7 separate regions of the Homo sapiens genome follow, and regions 2, 3, 4, 5, 6 and 7 are each linked to region 1. The links are contacts of gene promoters, found by promoter capture Hi-C in blood cells and fetal thymus (Javierre and others, 2016). All regions are on one chromosome and are shown on one strand. Each heading gives the region's core, a stretch centred on a gene start or on the middle of the fragment in contact. The rest is flanking DNA. Distances are from core to core; before and after follow the strand shown. Region 1 holds the start of THRSP (thyroid hormone responsive). Region 2 overlaps NARS2 (asparaginyl-tRNA synthetase 2, mitochondrial). Region 3 overlaps RSF1 (remodeling and spacing factor 1). Region 4 overlaps RSF1 (remodeling and spacing factor 1). Region 5 overlaps GAB2 (GRB2 associated binding protein 2). Region 6 overlaps RSF1 (remodeling and spacing factor 1). Region 7 overlaps NARS2 (asparaginyl-tRNA synthetase 2, mitochondrial).

Region 1 (2,742 bases), core at 43-2,542:
GGCTTCCCAAAGTGCTGGGATTACAGGCGTGAGCCACTGCGCCCGGCCATTTTCTTAAATATCTAATAAAAAATATATAGCAAATGCAGTTTGTAAACTATGACAATATGACCACGCAAAAGATTATTATCTTCCAAGACTGCTGGTCCAAGGAAAGGTCAGTAATAAAGTGGAAGCATTGTAGCTTATGGAATGACTGGTTAGATTTGGGAGAAGCCTTAGCAATAATCTAGAATCTGCATAGATAATACATCTGAGGATTGGGCTTTGTGGTTTACAAAGCATTTTTTTTCCTCTTTTGATCCCAGCCGCTTGTCTGGACTGATACAAAGCATTTTTATTAGTTTGTCTTATTCAATCCTCACACCACCTCAAATTTACAGAGGATATGGATCTGGTTAACTTGTATGACTATGTAACCTCATGTCAGTCCACAGCACTGCCTGGAGGTGGGTAGAGGTGGTCCTGGGCTGGAATCCCAGCCCCAGTGGGACCTTGAGCAAGTTACTTTAGCTGTCTGCACCTAAATTTCCTCACTGGCAAAACAGGAATACTGGTGGTTCACACCTGCAATTCCAGCACTTTGGGAGGCTGAGGTGGGAGGATTGCTTGAGTCCAGAAGTTCAAAACCAGACTGGGCAACATAGCAAGACCATCTCTACAAAAATTAAATAAATAAAACATTTACAAGGGTTGTGGTGAAGATTAAATGAGATCACTCACGAAAAAGCTCAGCAGACCCTGATGTGCAGTAGGTGCTCAATAAATGTTAGCCAGCAAAAAACAAACAAAAAAAAACTCAGCTAGGAAATTGCAGTACTGGGCTTCTGACTCCAACCTCAGTGTTCCTTGCCCCACATCAAGCTGTTTCACTTCAAATCCTCTCCATTTCACAATGGAGTCACCCCAGGTTGAAGGAGTGAACTGTGCTTTGGAGGGCTGCCCTAAGCAGGCAGCAAAGAGACAGCTTGGTCTCCAGTGACCTGAAAGAATTATTTATTGCCCTGAAGTCCAGTATACCAGTTGCCAAAGGGAAAAGCTTCCTTCCAACTGGCTCAGCAAGCTGACAGAGGAAGAGTCGGGTTCTTGCTGGGGCAGTCATGCAGAGCTGGGATGACAAGTAGAAGGCTGGCAGATCTGTCTCTGGGCAGATGGATCACCTGATACAGATGCTGGGGCCTGAGCCCTGGGATTGGCCCAAAACAGGGCTGTGTTGACCCAACAGCTGGGCATTGGCATCCTGTCAATCTGCCGAGAGCCTAGAAATAGTGCGGGGGCAGTCTGCTGGTCTCATTGTGTCAGAGGAAGCAACCATGCAGGTGCTAACCAAGCGTTACCCCAAGAACTGCCTGCTGACCGTCATGGACCGGTATGCAGCCGAGGTGCACAACATGGAGCAGGTGGTGATGATCCCCAGCCTTCTGCGGGACGTGCAGCTGAGTGGGCCTGGGGGCCAGGCCCAGGCTGAGGCCCCTGATCTCTACACCTACTTCACCATGCTCAAGGCCATCTGTGTGGATGTGGACCATGGGCTGCTGCCGCGGGAGGAGTGGCAGGCCAAGGTGGCAGGCAGCGAAGAGAATGGAACCGCAGAGACAGAGGAAGTCGAGGACGAGAGTGCCTCAGGAGAGCTGGACCTGGAAGCCCAGTTCCACCTGCACTTCTCCAGCCTCCATCACATCCTCATGCACCTCACCGAGAAAGCCCAGGAGGTGACAAGGAAATACCAGGAAATGACGGGACAAGTTTGGTAGACCTTGGACACTAGGGAAGGTAATGGTGGCCATGCTGGTGGGTGTGAGTCTACAAAGGGACATTCCAGGAGAGGAGAGGGGGCAGTGGTGCAACCCACTGGGAGAGGAACAGCCTGACTTTCAGACAGAGCCACTCTTGGGTCAGGGTATTGGGACCACAACCTAGGAGGGCCTAAGACTAGGCCTGTGTTACTATCCTTCTGACCTCAAATTGGCAATTGCAATGAAGTGATATGGAAACAGAGGGAAAAGTGGCCTGTGAGGGCATATCTCATATGCACATATATGTGTTTGTGCATGTGTGCATTTATTAGTATGTGAATGCTTGTAAATGTGTGAATTGAATGAGTGTGTTCTCATCAGTGACTTTGTTAAGAATTTAATTGAAGAGGGGCCAGGCGCGGTGGCTCACACCAAAGCACTTTGGGAGGCCGAGGCGGGCGGATCATGAGGCCAGGAGATTGAGACCATCCTGGCTAACATGGTGAAACCCAATCTCTACTAAAAATACAAAAAATTAGCTGGGCGTGGTGGTGGGTGCCTGTAGTCCCAGCTACTCGGGAGGCTGAGGCAGGAGAATGGCATGAACCTGGGAGGCAGAGGTTGCAGTGAGCTGAGATTGTGCCACTGCACTCCAGCCTAGGTGACAGAGGGAGACTCCATCTCAAAAAAAAAAAAAAAACTTACCTAAGGCATGCACATTGATTTAAGTGAACATTGTGAATTCCATTTGTGTGACAGTGTTTCCCAACATTTTTTCAAGTCACAGAACATGGAAAATTATTATATGGCACATGGGGATACATAGGTGAGGCTGCTTGCAGTACTGCTACAACAGGCTGGGGGTACTCTGACCATCCCAGGTTGGAACCCACCAAACGGGAAGCCGAGGGACCAGTCATGGCACTCTAATCCATTCCAGGCAAACTGGAGTATGCAGACATGCCTGTTGGGAAGCCCTGTTGTATGTACATATGAATATGTGTTC
Region 2 (2,942 bases), core at 286-2,785, 370 kb after region 1:
TAAAGTGCTAGAATTGTCAGGTTCTAAACTCCCCAATCAATGCTCTTCTCACTCTCATAGACCACAGTACTTTTTTTTTTTTTTTTTTTTTTTCTGAGATGGAGTCTCCCTCTGTCTCCCAGGCTGGAGGGCAGTGGCCCGTTCTTTGCTTACCGTAACCTCGGCTCCCGGGTTCAAGTGATTCTCCTGCCTCAGCCTCCCAAGTAGCTGGGATTATAGGCGCCTGCCACCACGCCTGGCTAATTTTTGTATTTTTAGTAGAGATGGGGTTTCACCATGTTGTCCAGACTGGTCTGGAACTACTGACCTCAAGTGATCCGCCCGCCTCACCCTCCCAAAGTGCTGGAATTACAGGCGTGAGCCACCATGCCCAGCTGACCACACTACTTTTAACTCTAGAATTACCCATCCTTTAGGCTCAGCCAAACTCCCATCCTCATCTTGGATTGAAAATACCTTTCTTCCAAATTTTACTGGGAAAGGACCAAATGAAATTAAAAAATATATAACTTTTTTTCCATAGGTGTCTATTAAAAAAATCTATTTTATTAGACAAATTATAAACATCAAATATAAACAAATTATAACAACAGTGATTAAAGAGTTGAAATACTTAATGTAATATCTCAACAGCTTTGAAAATTGAAAAGCAACAGTTATTAAACATGATTTTTTCATCCAGTTCAATGAAAGGAGATTTCAATTCAGAATAGCTACTTCTTTAAATCAATTAAGACCTTAAGGAATATTTTTTTCTGCAATGTTTAATGAAGTACTGAAAATGAGATAAGGATTTATCACAAAGTATATGGCAAGGGAGAAAAGATGCAACATTATTTTATTTCGAGCTACTAGATGGTTCTCACAAATTACACAGGGAGTGATTTAATGATTATAGACAACGTAAAATACATTATCTCATTCTGTTTTAGAGTTTAAAAGAAACTTTGAGACTAATTCAATTTCTTCATTTCTTAATTGAGGTAATGGATTTGAGAGTCCCCTTGCTATAAGTACCTCTTCTTGCGGGAGCTCATCCTTACGTGAAATACCCTCAACTTTCTAAGAAAATCACAACCACTTATATTTTTTCTATGATATCTTATGGCACAACAATTACATATTGAAATCTGCATTTCTAAAATCCAAACATGCATTCTGCTGTATGCACAATCATGTGCAGTGTCTCTGCCATGGGGGGTGCTTTTCCTTAACCAATCTTCCAGCTATAAAAGGCATGAATGAGGAAACCTTGGGAAAGGGATAACATCTTTGATATTGTCAACACCCAAGATGCACTGCAGGTAGCGTTCAAATCCCATCCCAAAACCTCCATGTGGCACAGATCCAAATCGACGAAGGTCCAGATACCTGTTTTTCAAAAATAGAAAATCATCATCTATATATAGTATAAGACCAGATGTTATGATTAGAATTTAATGTTTCAAACGTATTTTGCAATCATTTGTTATTGTTTACCTCACTGTGATAGACCAGTCTTTCCCCTCCACAGACAGACAATGGAAAGGAAGAAGCTGAATAATCTATCCAAGGTTACCCAGAGAAACAGCAGTGGATCCTGTCATACAGTCATGGGCTTTGGTCCCTTTTCCTTTTTAAGCTATTATATTTATGCATTTATGACAGAAAACTTGCCTCAGGAGGCTACAGAAAATTTTCTATAGATTTACTAATTTTCTTGAAAATATACGCCTCTTTTATTTCTTGGTAGGTTAATCACAATGTTTTCTTTTCCTTCCCAAAATCATATTGTTCAATACACAGAGGAGAGTGCAGAGTTTTGCCTGTTACATTATGAAAAGATATCCTATAGATTAGATTATAAGCTACAACAGGGCAGGAACTGTGCTTCATTCAACTTTTTATCACCAGGGAGCTCTAGAGTAGGTGTTAATTACATGAAGTTTTGTTTGAAGGCACAAAAATATATGCTTGAATGCTGGAGTGAGGAGAAACCTTTAATTCTCTGCCTTAGGCCTAGTGAAGATGCCCAGAGTCATTTAGCTGACATGCTAGACAGCCTCTGAAACCCATCCACGCACATTCTTTTCCCACTAAAGACCACATGGCAAGACAATGGCACAGACATGACTGAAACTCAGATTCTAACACACCAGCACTGGAAAAAGTTTTAGGAAGAAAAGAGGAAAAGGGCAACTATAAATATTTTATTATGTCATTTTGTGGGGAAATTCTTGAGTTATATAATATTGATTAAAACAAGTTTATCGGCCGGGTGTGGTGGCTCATGCCTGTAATTCCAGCACTTTGGGAGGCCGAGGTGGGCGGATCACTAGCTCAGGAGTTCAAGGCCAGCACTGCCAAAGTGGTGATACCCCGTCTCTACTAAAAATAGGAAAATTAGCCAGGCGTAGTGGCGCCCGTCTGTAATCCCAGCTACTCAGGAGGCTGAGGCAGAGGAGTCGCTTGAACCTGGGAAGTGGAGGTTGCAGTGAGCAGAGATGGAGCCACTGCACTCCAGCCTGGGTGACAGAGTGAGATTCTGTATCAAAAAAAAAAAAAAGAAAGAAAAAAAAAAAAAGACAAAAACCAAGCAAGTTTATATTTTCTTGAATGATTTGTAAAATCAGTTCTATAATAAGACGTAAGCAACATAACTTGTAGCCACTTGGTTCCTCAGTCATAAAGACTGTCCATCAACCTATTTCCCCACCATTAATAATAATGGCTACATATACTGGTATTGCAAGGAGTTAAGTCTAAGCACTTATCTTTTTAAAGGAAAAGATTAACTCCAAACAGATGAGTTGTAATCAGGTAAGAGACCAACATTACAGGGATATCTAGTATAAAACTTCAGATTAGTAATAACTATAAGAAATAATGGGAGGCACATTCAGTTATTCAGTCTTGAATAACTGAAATGTTTAGTTGCTAAATTAACTTTAAAGTTTACGAGG
Region 3 (2,700 bases), core at 172-2,671, 360 kb before region 1:
TTTAGAACCATTCAGTGTCTGAGAGTTAAGCAACTGTAATCAGTATTTCTTCCTTCTTTACAAAGTCAGTGCCATAGGGAATGCTGCTAAAATATTTCAAGAGATGAGAGTAAAAAAAAATTTCAAAAATTCAAAATATAAAAGTCCTACAGCATAAATAAGGTAAGAAAAAAACAGAGATGACAGTAATTACCTAAGTTGCATGTTTTCTCTTTCCCACTGATAAAACAGGTTTAATAAATTCTCATTTATTGAGATTAGCTAGTATATCAGGAAATTTAACTAAATGAACACCTTGTTTAACGGTTAAAATACTGATTACTATCTTTAAAAATAACTTCAACTGCCACGTGCAATGGCTCACGCCTTTAATCCCAGCACTTTGGGAGGCCAAGTTGGGTGGATCGCTTGAGCTCAGGAGTTTGAGACCAGCCTGGACAGCATGGTGAAACTCTGTCTCTACAAAAAATACAAAAAGTAGCCGGGGCATGGTGGTGTGTGCTTGTAGTTCCAGCTACTGGGTAGGCTGAGGTGGAAGGATCACTGGAGCCCAGGAGTTCAAGGTTAACCCTGATCCCTGATCATGCCACCACATTCCAGCCTGGATACATTCCAGCCTGGGTGACAGAGTGAGATCCTGTCTCAAAAAATAGAAACAAACAAACAAAACAAAAAAACCTTCAACCCAATACTAAGTGTGGCTAAACACAAGTTAATATTTTTTATCCCTATTCTATGGTTCAGAAAGTATCTAAAGATTTCATCATGACCCTGATCCAACGTAAAATTAAGTTTCTCAGTTTCTTCAGATTTCTCCATGTTTTCATTCGAAGGTAACTGATCTTGGTTTGAGTAACAACATAGCAAAATAAAACAAGAAATGACATTAGGTTCAAGATTCCCAGGTTCACTAACACTAATTTAGCTAGTGATGCATCTTTGGGTGTGTCACAAACTCACTGATCTTTCTTCATCTATAAATAAAGCAGCTGGACTAAATAACCTCAACTATTATTCTTCGCTGGTGTCATATTTCTTTTATTCTAAAAATGTTAAATTCTTTGGTTTTTTGTGTGTTTGCCTTGGTTTTTTTTTTTTTTTTGAGACGAAGTTTCGCTCTTGTTGCCCAGGCTGGAGTGCAATGGCATGATCTCAGCTCACCACAACCTCCGTCTCCTGGGTTCAAGCGATTCTCTTGCCTCAGCCTCCCAGTAGCTGGGATTACAGGCATGCACCACTACGCCCGGCTAATTTTGTATATTTAGTAGAGGCGGGGTTTCTCCATGTTGGTCAGGCGGGTCTCGAACTCCTGACTGCAGGTGATCCGCCCACCTTGGCCTCCCAAAATGCTGGGATTACAGGTGTGAGCCACCATGCCTGGCCGGCTTGGTTCTTTTAAGAGAAAAAAATGACAACAATTAATATTCTAGCTCCTCTAAATTAAATAAATATGTTTCCAAAATAGTGTAGAGGAAGGAAGAACTAGGACAGAATATGAACCTTTAAGCACTATAATAATTAGTAAAAAGGTCAGTTACACAAGCATTTTCCCAAAGTTTGTCAAAAGAAAGTTGTAAAAGAGCACATAAATGAGTTTAAAAGGCATAAAATTTGAAGTGACCAAAGGAAAAATTCACTCCAAAAATTGAAACACAGCATCACATTTCTTCACAAATGAGGTGACTCAAGAGAAGTGGTAGCTACTGTGGGTTTTTAAAGGTGATTCATTCATTTACTCAACAAATATTTATTGATCACTTATTATGTGCTTTCTCCACCACCCCTAGCAGAATCACTCTGTAATGATACATTGAATATTCTATAAAAGTTAACAGTAGAAGACACTGAGTTGCCTGCCGATTATCTATTCTCCTCTTCCTTTTTACAAACAGAACTTATTTTGTTCAGGAAGGCACTTGCCTCCTCAAACACCTTAAAGCTGTGAGTCATGTGATCCAGTTATGACCAATGACATGTATGAGGAAGTCGTGGGTGAGAAGGGAGTCAGCTGACTGGTGCCTTTTGCCCTTTTCCCTTCTTTGGGTCCAGATTCTATACACAATACCTGGAGAAGGAGCTGTGGTCCCAGCTACGTGGGAGGATTGCTTGAGCCCAGGAAGTCAAGGCTGTAGTGAGCTATGACTCACTACATTCTTGTTGGTGCGACAAAGCAAGACCCTGTCTCAAAAAAAAACCAAAAAAACAAAAAAACCCAACAAACCAACAAAAAAACCCACCACACAAATAAAATGTTGGATATACAAGTGTTTTATACTATTTTTTATTTGAACTATTTCATTAAAAATTAAGACTCTCAGCCAGGTGCAGTGGCTTACGCCTGTAATCCCAGCACTTTGGGAGGCTAAGGTGGGCAGATCACAAAGGTCAACACGGTGAAACCCTGTCTCTACTAAAGATACAAAATTAGCAGGGTGGGGTGGTGTGAGCCTGTAGTCCCAGCTACTCGAGAGGCTGAGGCAGGAAAATGGCTTGAACCCGGGAGGCAGAGGCTGCAGTGAGCTGAGATTGCCCCACTGCACTCCAGCCTGGCGACAGAGTGAGACTCTGTCTCCAAAAAAAAAAAAAAAAAAAATTAAGACTCTCAAAGAGTCAGACAAACCTTAACGCTCTTGTGTCACCTCCACCTTGGCCAGCTGTGGGACCTTTAGAAAATTACTTGAAACTTTCTAAGTCTCTTTA
Region 4 (2,712 bases), core at 203-2,702, 330 kb before region 1:
ATACCCAGAAATGAAATTTATAGGTTATGGGATAATAGTTTGTTAACATTTGAAGAAACTGCAAAACTTTCCCAAAGTGGTTGTATCATTTTACATATACAAGAAGGTGTTTCAGTTGGTTCATATCCTTGTTAACATTTGGTGCTGTAAGCCATTTTCGTTTTACTAATTCTAATGGAAGTAAGGTAATACCTCATTGTGGTTTTAATTGGAAATTCTACAATGAATAATGATGCTAAGCACTTTTTCATATGAATACTGGCTATATATATATATATTCTTTATGAAGTAACTGCTTAATAGTCTGCATATAACTTTATCTTCCTTAGTATACTTGGTACAAAAGTACTTTCTGTAGTCCCACTAAGATCCTGAAGAAGCTTGTGATGGAATCTGGTCTATGGTCTTTATTTGCTAAAATTCTCTAATCATTAATAACCAAACACTACCACCTTGTTATGTTTACATCTTTGATTTTTTTTTTTTTTTTTTTTGAGACACAGGGTCTCACTCTGTTGCCCAGGCTAGAGTGCAGTGGTACAATCACAGTTCACTGCAGCCTCAAGCTCCTGTGCTCAAGCAATCCTCCCACCTCAGCCTCTCAAGTCACTGAGACTACAGGCAAGTGCCACCACACCTTGCTGATTTTTGTATTTGTTGTAGAGACAGGGTTTCATCAAGTTGCCTAGGCAGGTCTCCAACTGCTGGGTTCAAGCAAACTGCTCACCTGGGCCTCCCAAAGTGCTGAGGTTATAGGTGTGAGCCATCATGCTGAGCCCATCTTTTTCATTCCTAAACAAATTCTATTGACATACCCCATGGAGTGAATAAAATCACTTATTACATCATATTTGATTAGATGTAAAATTTTTTTTTCTGTACTTTTATCTTCTTTCATTGAGGCCTAAAGATGAAATAATGCTTTTGTGGCAATTCTGTTTTAAACATTAACTGGAATAAGTAGGACACTGGCTGGAGCTTAAACATTTTTGCTATTGAAACCTGTTATAATACTTGATTGAGCCATATGAAATCACCATTTTTATAGGTCAAAATGTTCAAATGTTAACAATTTCATATGGTTTAATGAAACTTAACTACTTCTATTGTTTTGTAAATCACATACTAAATCTTGTTTCAACTTAAAGTATAATTATATATAAGTTAATTGCTTCCTATCTATTCATCTAATACATATATTTATATTATTATTATTACTTTTTTTGGGGGGGGGTACCAAATTTCTTCATCTGAAGGAATGGCACAAATCAAAGAACTTAGGTGGATGTTTTGGTACAACTTATAGAAAAGGTAAAGGAAACCCCAACATGCATGCACTGCCTTGGTGACCAGGGAAGTCACCCCACGGCTACGGGGAAATTAGCCGAGGCTTAGCTTTCATTATCACTGTCTCCCAGGGTGTGCTTGTCAAAGAGATATTCTGCCAAGCCAGATTCGAGTGCTCCCATCTTGTGCAAGTTGGTCACATGGTCATCCAATTCTTTGATGGCTTTCACCTGCTCATTCAGGTAATGTGTCTCAATGAAGTCACACAAATGGGGGTCATTTTTGTCAGTGGCCAATTTGTGCAGTTCCAGTAGTGACTGATTCACATTTTTTTCCAAATGTAATGCACACTCCATCACATTCAGCCCGCTCTCCCAGTCATCACAGTCTGGTTTTTTGATATCCTGAAGGAAGATTCGGCCACCTCGTTGGTTCTGCAGCTTCATCAGTTTCTCAGCATGCTCCCTCTCCTCATGAGATTGGTGAAGAAAGTATTTGGCAAAGTTCTTCAAAGCCACATCATCACGGTCAAAGCAGTAAGACATGGACAGGTAAACGTAGGAGGCACAGAGCTCTAGGTTGATCTGGCGGTTGATGGCGGCCTCTGAGTCCTGGTGGTAGTTCTGGCGCACCTGTGAGGTGGACGTGGTCCTCATGGCGGCGACTAAGGAGAGGTGGCGGCGGTGGCAGTGGCTGCGTGGCGCTGGGGCGGCGGCAGGGGCCTTGGGGCGGTCTGAGGGTGCCGTGAAGAGGTGAGGGAGGGCTGGCTATGGGCGGCCGGCTGGGGTGGGGGACGAGCACCGGGTTCCGTCCAAGCACTGTTGAAGCAGGAAACCCCGACGACTCTCGGCAAAGAACGTCTCTATATTTATATTATTAATTTTGCAACTTGCAGAAATGGAAGTTGCTACGTAACAGTACAAGTTTTAAGACTGTGGTGATGTCATGGTATGAAATTTTCAGTAGATCAACTATGTAAAATTATCCCTTTTTGGTGGATTCTCATTTTTTAAAAATTCCATTTGATGTTTAATTTGCAAAGTTCAGTTATATTTCTAAATTTATCAATCATTAAGAAGGCTGACTTATTAGCTTTAGAAAACGGAACCCTAAAGACTAGATAACTTTTGTTATATAATCCTCTTTTAAGAATTAGGTAGAAACACGTTTCCAACACCAGCCGATCACCAAGAAAATAATACTGTTACTTTAAAGAAATTGTTTTAAGAAAAAACAAGAAGCTTTTAATTTACTAGTAAAAAATAATACTTACTAGCTAAGAAAAGCACCTAAATGCAACCTATTAAATGAAAAAGTCAAAGTCAAAATCTCATTTGCTTTACTTGTTCTTCCCTTATCACTTAATTTTCTTTTTTCTTCTTTTTTGAGATGGAGGCCGCTCTGTTGTCGCCAGGCTGGAGTGCA
Region 5 (2,915 bases), core at 233-2,732, 320 kb after region 1:
ATGTACCAAACCTGATGCACCTCAAAGGTGGCACCAGATGGGTGTGAATGTCACACACAGGAGTAAAACTCTTCCTAGAGCAAATGATAATGAGAGAGCTGAAGGCAGATGCATGCTTGAACTCTCATATGGGAGCTATGTGGGAGACCAACAGGTCTGTGAAAGAGAACTCCAGTCAGAGTAAGAAATACAGCACACAAATCGAGTGTCTCAGTCCTGGGAGTGCTTGCAGGCACTTCCGGAGCTTCCATTATCATGAAGCAACTGAACCGCTTGAGGCTATCAACCAACTTCAGAAATTGTGCCATCAGTGGCTGAGGCCAGAGATCCACTCAAAAAAGCACATTTTGGAAATGCTGGTACTAGAGCACTTCCTGACCATCCTGCCAAAGGGGACCCAGAACTGGGTGCAGAAGCATCATCCACAGCTTGCCAAACAGGCCCTGGTCCTGGTGGAACGCTTGCAGAGAGAACCTGGTGGAACAAAGAATGAGGTCACAGCCCATGAGCTGGGAGAGGAGGCAGTGCTCTTGAGAGGAACAACAGTGGCCCCAGGCTTCAAGTGGAAGCCAGCAGAGCTCGAACCAATGGGTCTGTTCTAGAAAGAATACTGGAACACATACAGGGTACTACAAGAACAGCTGGGCTGGAATACTCAGAAAGAAACCCAGCCTGTATATGAAAGAGCTGTGCATGTTCAACAGATTTTAGCCCTTTCTGAGCACAAAAGCACCAAAGACTGGAAGATGGCACCTAAGCTCATCTGGCCTGAGTCCCAGAGTTTATTGACATTTGAAGACATGGCTGTGTACTTCTCTGAGGAAGAATGGCAATTATTAGGTCCTCTTGAGAAGACTCTCTACAATGATGTAATGCAGGATATCTATGAGACTGCCATCTCTCTAGGGTTAAAGCTAAAAAATGACAATGGAAATGACTATCCTATAATATCGGTTTCTGCACCTGAAATACAAACAGCAGGATACAAAGTATCAAAAAAGACCAGAATGAAAATTGCCCAGAAAACAAAGGACAGGGAAAATCATGGTGATACACACAGGGTATAGAAATGGCATCAAGCTTTTCCAAGGAAGAAAAGAAACTTACAACTTGTAAACAAGAGCTTCCAAAACTTATGGATCTTCACGGGAAAGGCCACACAGGAGAGAAACCTTTTAAATGTCAGGACTGTGGGAAAATCTTCAGAGTTAGCTCAGATCTTATTAAGCACCAGAGAATTCACACTGAAGAGAAACTCTATAAATGTCAACAATGTGACAGGAGGTTTAGATGGAGTTCAGGTCTTAATAAGCACTTCATGACACATCAAGGAATAAACCCATATAGATGCTCATGGTATGGGAAAAGCATTAGTTATGACACAAATCTACAAACACACCAAAGAATTCACACAGGAGAGAAGCCCTTTAAATGTCATGAATGTGGGAAAATATTCATTCACAAATCCAACCTTATTAAATACCAGAGAACTCACACAGGTGAGCAGCCTTATACTTGTAGCATATGCAGGAGAAACTTTAGTAGGCAGTTGAGCCTTCTTAGACACCAGAAACTCCACAGAAGATGGGAAGCATGTCCAATGTCTCCAAACTGAGGAAAGTTACCATGTAGAGATTGATTTTAGATGTGATGAAAGAATACAAAATTATGAGGCACCCAATGATAGGAATCTGTCATCAACAGAACATTTGGGAGGGGTACATATTATGCTTCACAAAAGTTATCTAACCTGTCTTATTCAGCATTGCATCTTTCATGCCTAGCACAAGACTGATACATAATTAGTATTTTATTAATAAAAAAATGAAAGTGTAGCTATGAGATATCTTTACCTGTCTATCTATACGTATGTATCTGGTTATTCAAAGCTTCCCCATCCCCAGTCAGTGCCTGAGATATATGATGGTCAAGACTCTTAGACTCATTCTTTATTCTTTGTCAGGAGAGATGGAAGGTAAGAGTACCTGGGCCCTCTCAAGGGAGTTCAGAGAGAATTACTAAGTTAGGGACAGTTTCAATAGCTATCATTCTATCTATGTGAACAATCAAACCCAGGACTCAGGGAACTTTATAACAGAAAGAGGATTCAGTGTTTGCCCTGGGAGAAGTGCCCCATTCTAGTTGCTTCTTTCCTGAGTACCCACTACCACAATGTCTTCTGTCAAGGAATTACAAGTAGCAAGGGAAGGTCTGGCTACAAGGACAGACCTAGGGACCCTGCAAGCACTTGATATCTCTTCTCTTGCTGACTCTGTCAACACAGACAACACAAAATGGAATGATGAAGGAGGCAGTCTTGGCCCTCATCCAGGTATCTGTTTCTTTGTAGAAAGTACACATAAGTAATGAAGGTCTTTTTCTGACTTTCATTATGTGCACTGGATGGAGGCTTTCAAACTGGTGCTACACTGCTGCAGGGCCTAAAGGGAGGCCTGTCCTTATGGCTGATCAGCTACAACCCTATATGCCTGAATACTCTGCAAGAAGGCCTGGAGGTTTTCCAAAACTGATTTATTGAGAATGGCAAGGAGGGCCCTGTGACCTCTTAGCCTTGGTGCACAGCTAATACCAGGAGGGAACATCCTGAAGTGTCAGAGCAAAGTAAGGCATGTGGCTTAGAGTAATGACCGCAGTCAGGGCCAGGCAAGATGTAAATTGTTTACTCATGTTATTGGTTTTCCTGTCTTCCCTACTGGCCAAAGTGACTATCTCTTACGAAGAGACAATGTGATGTCAAGGAAGTTGGAAGGCACGGATTTACATCTGGTTTATAAATGTTGGCCAAGCCTTCTATATATTTATTATTTCATAAAATTGTACTTTTAAATCAAAATGACATGTTTTGTTAGATTTAGACATTAAACAAAACGTTGTTACCAAAATAATGAATGAAT
Region 6 (2,799 bases), core at 117-2,616, 380 kb before region 1:
ACAAACACATACCTCCTCCATCGGCTTCTTTGATGTCATCTTCAATAGCTTCATCAATTGCTTCATCAAACTCATCAAATCTAAAATATACACAATGATCACATTATAGCCTGTCCTGGCTTTTTTTTTTTTTTTTTTAATTATTTTTATTTATTTATTTTTGAGACGGAGTCTCTCTTTGTTGCCAGGCTGGAGTGCAGTGGCGCCATCTCGGCTCACTGCAACCTCTGCCTCCCGGGTTCAAGGGATTCTCCAGCCTCAGCCTCCCGAGTAGCTGGGACTACAGACGCGTGCCACCAAACCCAGCTAATTTTTGTACTTTTAGTAGAGACAGGGTTTCATCATGTTGGCCAGAATGGTCTCGATCTCGACCTCGTGATCTGCCCGCCTCAGTCTCCCAAAGTGCTGGGATTACAGGCGTGAGCCACCGCACCCAGCTGTCCTTTTATTTTTAAAGATTACCTTTAGCAGATGTCTGTTACTGTCTGATTGTTTATGTCCCCTCAAAATCCCCATGTTGAAATATTAAATCTCAAGGTGATGGTATTAGGAGGTGGGGTCTTTGGCAGAGCCCTCATGTATAAGATTAGTGCCCATATAAAAGAAGCCAGAGAGAGACCCTTTGTTTCTTCCACCATATGGGGTTACAGTGAGAAGATGGCCATCTATGAAGGAGCAGGCCTTCACTAGGCATCGGGTCTACCCTAAAAACTCCCCTCATCCCTTCCGTGATTAAGAACACCCTAGAAGGTGCCATCTATGAACCAGAAAGCAGGCCCTCACCAGACAGCATACCTGCCAGTATCTTGACCTTGGACCTCCTAGTTTCTAGAACCGCAAGAAATAAATTTCTGTTGATTATAGGCTATCCAGTTTACGGTTACTTTCTGATAGCAGCCAAATTAGACTGAGGCAATGTCAGCAAAAATTTTTATAAAGGGCCAGATGGTAAATATTTTAGGCTTTTCAGACAATGCAGTCTCTGTTGTAACTACTCAACTCTGCTATTGTAGTGCAAAGCAGCTACGGACAACATGTAAGTAAATGATACAGACGTGTTTCAATAAAACTTTATGAGCATTAAAATTTGAATTATAGGTAATTTCCATATAATTTTCACAGGATATCATTTTTCTTTTGATCCTTTTCTTCAAACATTTATAAAAACCACTTTGAGGTCACGTTGTACAAAAACTAGAAGTGAGCTGAATTTGGCCCACAGGCCATAATTTGCCAACTCCTAATTATACAAATCACATGGCAAAGTAAGTAAAACAAAATTACAGTTCCATAAATACTATTAAGTCCTAATAATATGTCTGGGCACAGTGGCTTACATCTGTAATCTCAGCACTTTGGGAGGCCAAGGCAGGCAGATCACTTGAGCCCAGGAGTTCAAGACCAGCTTGGGCAACATGGTGAACCCCTGTCTCTATAAAGAATACAAAAAATTAGCTGGGTGTGTGGTGCGTGCCTGTAGTTCCAGCTACTTGGGGGGCCGAGACAAGAGGATTGCTTGAGCCCAAGAGGCAGAGGATGAAGTAAGCCGAGAATGCACCACTGCACTCCAGCCTGGGGGACAGAGCGAGACCCTGTCTCAAAAAAAAAAAAAAGAAAAGAAAAAGAGTCCCAATAATAGGGCTATATTATTACTGCTATTGAAAATTATATTATAACTGAAATTCATACACAAATGGTTAAAATTTTAGAACTAGGTAAAAGTATTTCTTGAAGCTGTTTACCTTGACTTAAAGAAAAGGATCAAGACTAAAGGATTCCTAAGATTTCTTCACATATAAAATGCCTTTTACTTCAGGGCTCAGCCAAAAGGATGAAGTAACTTGTTTAAATCTACGCTAAAAATGGTAATTACTAGCCTGTGTGGCTATTTATATTTAAATTCATTAAAATTTAAAATTCTGTTCCTCACTAGACATAATTCAAGTATTCAATAGTCACATATGGCTATGGCCACCATATCAGACATCAAAGAAATAGATTCTATTTCCATCACCAGAGTATATTATATTGAAGAGGGTGGGATTACGGGCACACAATGGATTAACAACAGCATCAAAACTAAAAGCTAGGGCTGGGTGCAGTGGCTCAGCACTCTTGGGAGGCTGAGGCAGGAGTATAACTTGAGCCCAGGAGGTTGAGACCAATCTGGGCTATATGGTGAGACCCTGTATCTACAAAAATAAAAAATTAAAAAAATTAGCCAGGTGTGGTGATGTGTGCCTGTAGTCCTAGCACTCTGGGAAGCTGAGGCAATAGGACTGCTTGTGGATAGGAGTTCGAGGCCGCAGTGAGCTGTGATCATGCCACTGCACTCCAGCCTGTGTGACAGAGTGAAATCCTGTCTCAAAAAAAGAAAAAAGACTAAAAGCTGGAGGCTGGAAGTGGCTGTATACACCCATAGTCCCAACTATTTGGGAGGCTGAGGCAGTAGGATGGCTTGAGCCCAGGAGTTGGGAGTCCAGTCTAGGCAACATAACAAGACCCCGTCTCTAAAAACTAAACATCCTGCCTTCTGAGTTAGAATATATAATTTCAAAGGACTCACAAATTTCAGATGGAGAGCTCTTCTTTTACAATGTAATTTTTACTGGCTGCATAGTATCTCACCTTACAGATGTATCATATTTAGTTAAAACAGTTTATTTCCAATTTTTCACAATTGCAATATTATGAGAAACATTCTTGTAGCTGCAGTGTGGATTTGTCTTAAGTTCTGAGAAAGTAAAACTCAGCACATCCATTCACTAGGGTAGAATAGCAGATACATATAAAGCCAGA
Region 7 (2,700 bases), core at 39-2,538, 390 kb after region 1:
CTCACTGCAACCTCCACCTCCCGGGTTCAAGCGATTCTCTTGCCTCAGCCTCCCAAGTAGCTGGGATTATAGGCACCTGCCACTACGCTCAGCTAATTTTTCGTATTTTTAGTAGAGACAGGTTTCACCATGTTGGCCAGGCTGGTCTCGAACTCCTGACCTTGTGATTTGCCTGCCTTGGCCTCCCAAAGTGCTGGGATCACAAGCATGAGCCACCGTGCCCAGCCAGTCTCAGGTATTTTTTTATAGCAACTTAGAGCAACTCTATTTCAGTAAAATGGACTAACACACAGACCACTGTTTATTCCTTCAGAATGTTTTAGGTTCATTTCTTTCTCTCCATTTTCACTGTTGAGATTATAAGCAAAAGTCCCATAATTATCTTATGTGTCTTTAATTCCCCCCTTCCCCAATCCATTCTATATGTCAGGTTAATTTTTTCATCTTGCCAGTATCTTAGAATACATACAATGCCTCTCTGTTTTTTACTGGATAAAGCCCAAGCTATCTGTAACACTCCAATCTCTCCATAATTGTTCCTATCTTGTCTAGCCATCTTTATCACCCAATAATTCCTTACTCCATTATTTTTATAGCATAGAATTTTAATTTTTAAAGCAATTTTAAAAACATTTGTTCATCTGATTTCCACAACAAACCTGTGATGATACAAGTGTGTAATTCCCTTTTAAAGTAAACTTAAAGTATAAAATATGTGTAAAAAGTACACAAATAACTAGTATACAGTTCTATAAATTTTCACAAACACACCATGAAGCACCATACGGATCAATAAACTGAACAATAGCAGTACCCCAAAAAAGTCCTCCTAAGGTCTTCTTTTAGTTACTACCCCTACCAAAAGTAACCTCTTTCCTGACCTCTATCACCAGAGATTGACTATGATCCCCTGAGAATACTGAGGACAAGAAAGATCAAGTGGTATATCCAGGAACAAAACCCAAGTCTCCTGGCTCTAAGTCCATAGCTCTTCCTGCCACCCCACACAAACTCTTCACTCCCAGAAAGATCAGGATTCTAATGAAGCTGCCATATATGCTGTATTTCTGCCTTTACAGCCTAGCTTCAATACCTGCTAGCGGTGTGATTTTGCATGAGTGACTATACTGCTGCACTGAGAGGTAGCAGCCTCATCTGTAAGAAAGGGATAAAAGTTAATTATCGGCACATACTCGATAAACATTATTGTTTTCTCTTTTGAATGTTTTAACGTTATGCTTGCCACACGGGTACTCAATAATAGATGTCAATTTGGAACGTCAAAAATTTAATCTTTGTTAATCTTTTCTTCCATTTTCCTCTGTCTACCATGTTTTAAGTAATCTCTAATCTTACAAAGTTAATCTTATTTAGTTAAGTGAGACAATATAAATAATTTCTCAACTCCCTAAATGTCTTTTCCTTGCTACTTTTAATAATGAAGATTCCTCGACACTCTTACTCTACCAAAAGACTTAGGAGGCATTTACGTTCACTTTTATCTCAGTTGCTTTAACCAAACTTGTTCAATTAAGACACACTGGGAAGACTGAAATGGGAGAAACAGTTTGGTAACAAAACCTTAGAAGTCTGTATCACACACATAAAAGGATTTCTCTTCCCTATGTTCCCTAACTCTACAATTCAAAGTATTAATATAAAATATGTCATGATAAAGAATCTCAAAGTATTTTACGACAGACTGAAATGGATACTTTCAATTTTGACAAAAATTTCTAGGATTCTCTTTAGTCCTAGATATGGGGAAAATTGGCAATTCCCTTCATCACTATTTCTGTTGGTTGGTGGCTCGAGCTATTTTGATGCAGGTTGGTTAATTAGCCACAGCTCTGGGAAATTTATTGCACACCCCTTGGCTGAGTATTCTCCTTTCTGAGTTGACTTCACAGTATGTACTTTACTGAATGCCCACTAATGCTGACCTTTCTCTGGTTTGCTAAGTAATACTGATATAATTTTGAAAATTAGAACACTACCTGGTGATTGTGGCATCTCATCAAGGACTGAGGGGCAGTCACTTTTTCCTAATTACACGTGTGTAGAATAAAAGACTATTCTTCTCTGTGAAGCCACTCCCCCAGCTGAACATCTGCCACCTGGCTTTGAGGGACTTACCTGGAGACCAGCCTCAGAGGCATATGGCATTTTGCATATTTGCTTAGATTCATTTTCCCATGATCTGTCCCTTTCAAATGATCAAATATGCTCAGTAATTTATAAGTTAGTCTTATCCATGCATATGAAGAAAAACTTAGGCTACAGGAAATCAGAGAATCTTAGAGAGGTAATACTTTAGAGGTCACTTAATCCAATTCTCTGATTATACAGAGGGAGAAATTGAGGCTGAAAGATCACAGAGACTTGCCTGAGGTGACACAGGTAACTAGTAAGGTATCTAGATTTCAAACCCAGAACCACTCTGCATCCTGTGTACTTTTCAGTACACCACAGCGCATACCTTCATTTCTACTGAGAGGTGGGGAGAAAGGAAGATAAATTATAACTGTAAAAACATACCATTTTACTATTTATTACCCTCTGGCCAAAAGTTACAAGTGTAGATTAGATATTTCCCCATCCTTCTCTTTTGGTTCCCTAAAGAAGGCACCTATGAAACACACCTGTCTTATTTTTTTCAAGACTGCACTGCATCCATTACAGGAACTCTTGCGAACTTAC

Evidence for each region. Contacts are between HindIII fragments. The CHiCAGO score rates a contact against its expected background, and 5 or more counts as called.
Region 2: a contact is called between a fragment that was not itself captured here and the fragment with the promoter of THRSP in region 1, in 4 of 17 cell types (activated CD4 T cells, M2 macrophages, total CD4 T cells and 1 more). The highest score is 6.9, in activated CD4 T cells.
Region 3: a contact is called between a fragment that was not itself captured here and the fragment with the promoter of THRSP in region 1, in 1 of 17 cell types (erythroblasts). The highest score is 5.9, in erythroblasts.
Region 4: a fragment that was not itself captured here is called in contact with the fragment with the promoter of THRSP in region 1 in 2 of 17 cell types (endothelial precursors and non-activated CD4 T cells); the score reaches 7.5 in endothelial precursors.
Region 5: a fragment that was not itself captured here is called in contact with the fragment with the promoter of THRSP in region 1 in 2 of 17 cell types (activated CD4 T cells and non-activated CD4 T cells); the score reaches 5.5 in activated CD4 T cells.
Region 6: a fragment that was not itself captured here is called in contact with the fragment with the promoter of THRSP in region 1 in 1 of 17 cell types (erythroblasts); the score reaches 5.3 in erythroblasts.
Region 7: a fragment that was not itself captured here is called in contact with the fragment with the promoter of THRSP in region 1 in 1 of 17 cell types (activated CD4 T cells); the score reaches 5.9 in activated CD4 T cells.

The regions. Positions count from the first base shown.
Region 1 is chr11:78,062,569-78,065,310 of GRCh38, forward strand. It overlaps THRSP (thyroid hormone responsive), which reads left to right and starts at 1,293. Exons shown (of 2, transcript NM_003251.4): 1 at 1,293-1,773. The coding sequence starts at 1,314. The coding sequence ends at 1,754. The region is part of intron 1 of NDUFC2-KCTD14 (NDUFC2-KCTD14 readthrough); the gene reads right to left. The HindIII fragment of the contact is 4,485 bases long and covers 1,038-2,742 here.
Region 2 is chr11:78,435,444-78,438,385 of GRCh38, forward strand. NARS2 (asparaginyl-tRNA synthetase 2, mitochondrial) reads right to left here. Exons shown (of 14, transcript NM_024678.6): 14 at 525-1,371. The coding sequence ends at 1,227. Among named protein-coding and RNA genes, the nearest start is that of LINC02728, 7.1 kb to the left of the region's middle. The HindIII fragment of the contact is 4,868 bases long and covers 1-2,942 here.
Region 3 is chr11:77,703,668-77,706,367 of GRCh38, forward strand. All of the region lies in intron 5 of RSF1 (remodeling and spacing factor 1), which reads right to left. Among named protein-coding and RNA genes, the nearest start is that of RSF1-IT1, 35 kb to the right of the region's middle. The HindIII fragment of the contact is 5,156 bases long and covers 1-2,700 here.
Region 4 is chr11:77,733,084-77,735,795 of GRCh38, forward strand. The region is part of intron 4 of RSF1 (remodeling and spacing factor 1); the gene reads right to left. It also overlaps the pseudogene FTH1P16. Among named protein-coding and RNA genes, the nearest start is that of RSF1-IT1, 5.3 kb to the right of the region's middle. The HindIII fragment of the contact is 2,148 bases long and covers 379-2,526 here.
Region 5 is chr11:78,384,125-78,387,039 of GRCh38, forward strand. All of the region lies in intron 1 of GAB2 (GRB2 associated binding protein 2), which reads right to left. It also overlaps the pseudogene ZNF75CP. Among named protein-coding and RNA genes, the nearest start is that of GAB2, 32 kb to the right of the region's middle. The HindIII fragment of the contact is 809 bases long and covers 1,079-1,887 here.
Region 6 is chr11:77,678,074-77,680,872 of GRCh38, forward strand. It overlaps RSF1 (remodeling and spacing factor 1), which reads right to left. Exons shown (of 16, transcript NM_016578.4): 12 at 13-80. Among named protein-coding and RNA genes, the nearest start is that of CLNS1A, 42 kb to the left of the region's middle. The HindIII fragment of the contact is 4,778 bases long and covers 1-2,799 here.
Region 7 is chr11:78,454,690-78,457,389 of GRCh38, forward strand. The region is part of intron 11 of NARS2 (asparaginyl-tRNA synthetase 2, mitochondrial); the gene reads right to left. Among named protein-coding and RNA genes, the nearest start is that of LINC02728, 26 kb to the left of the region's middle. The HindIII fragment of the contact is 2,929 bases long and covers 1-2,700 here.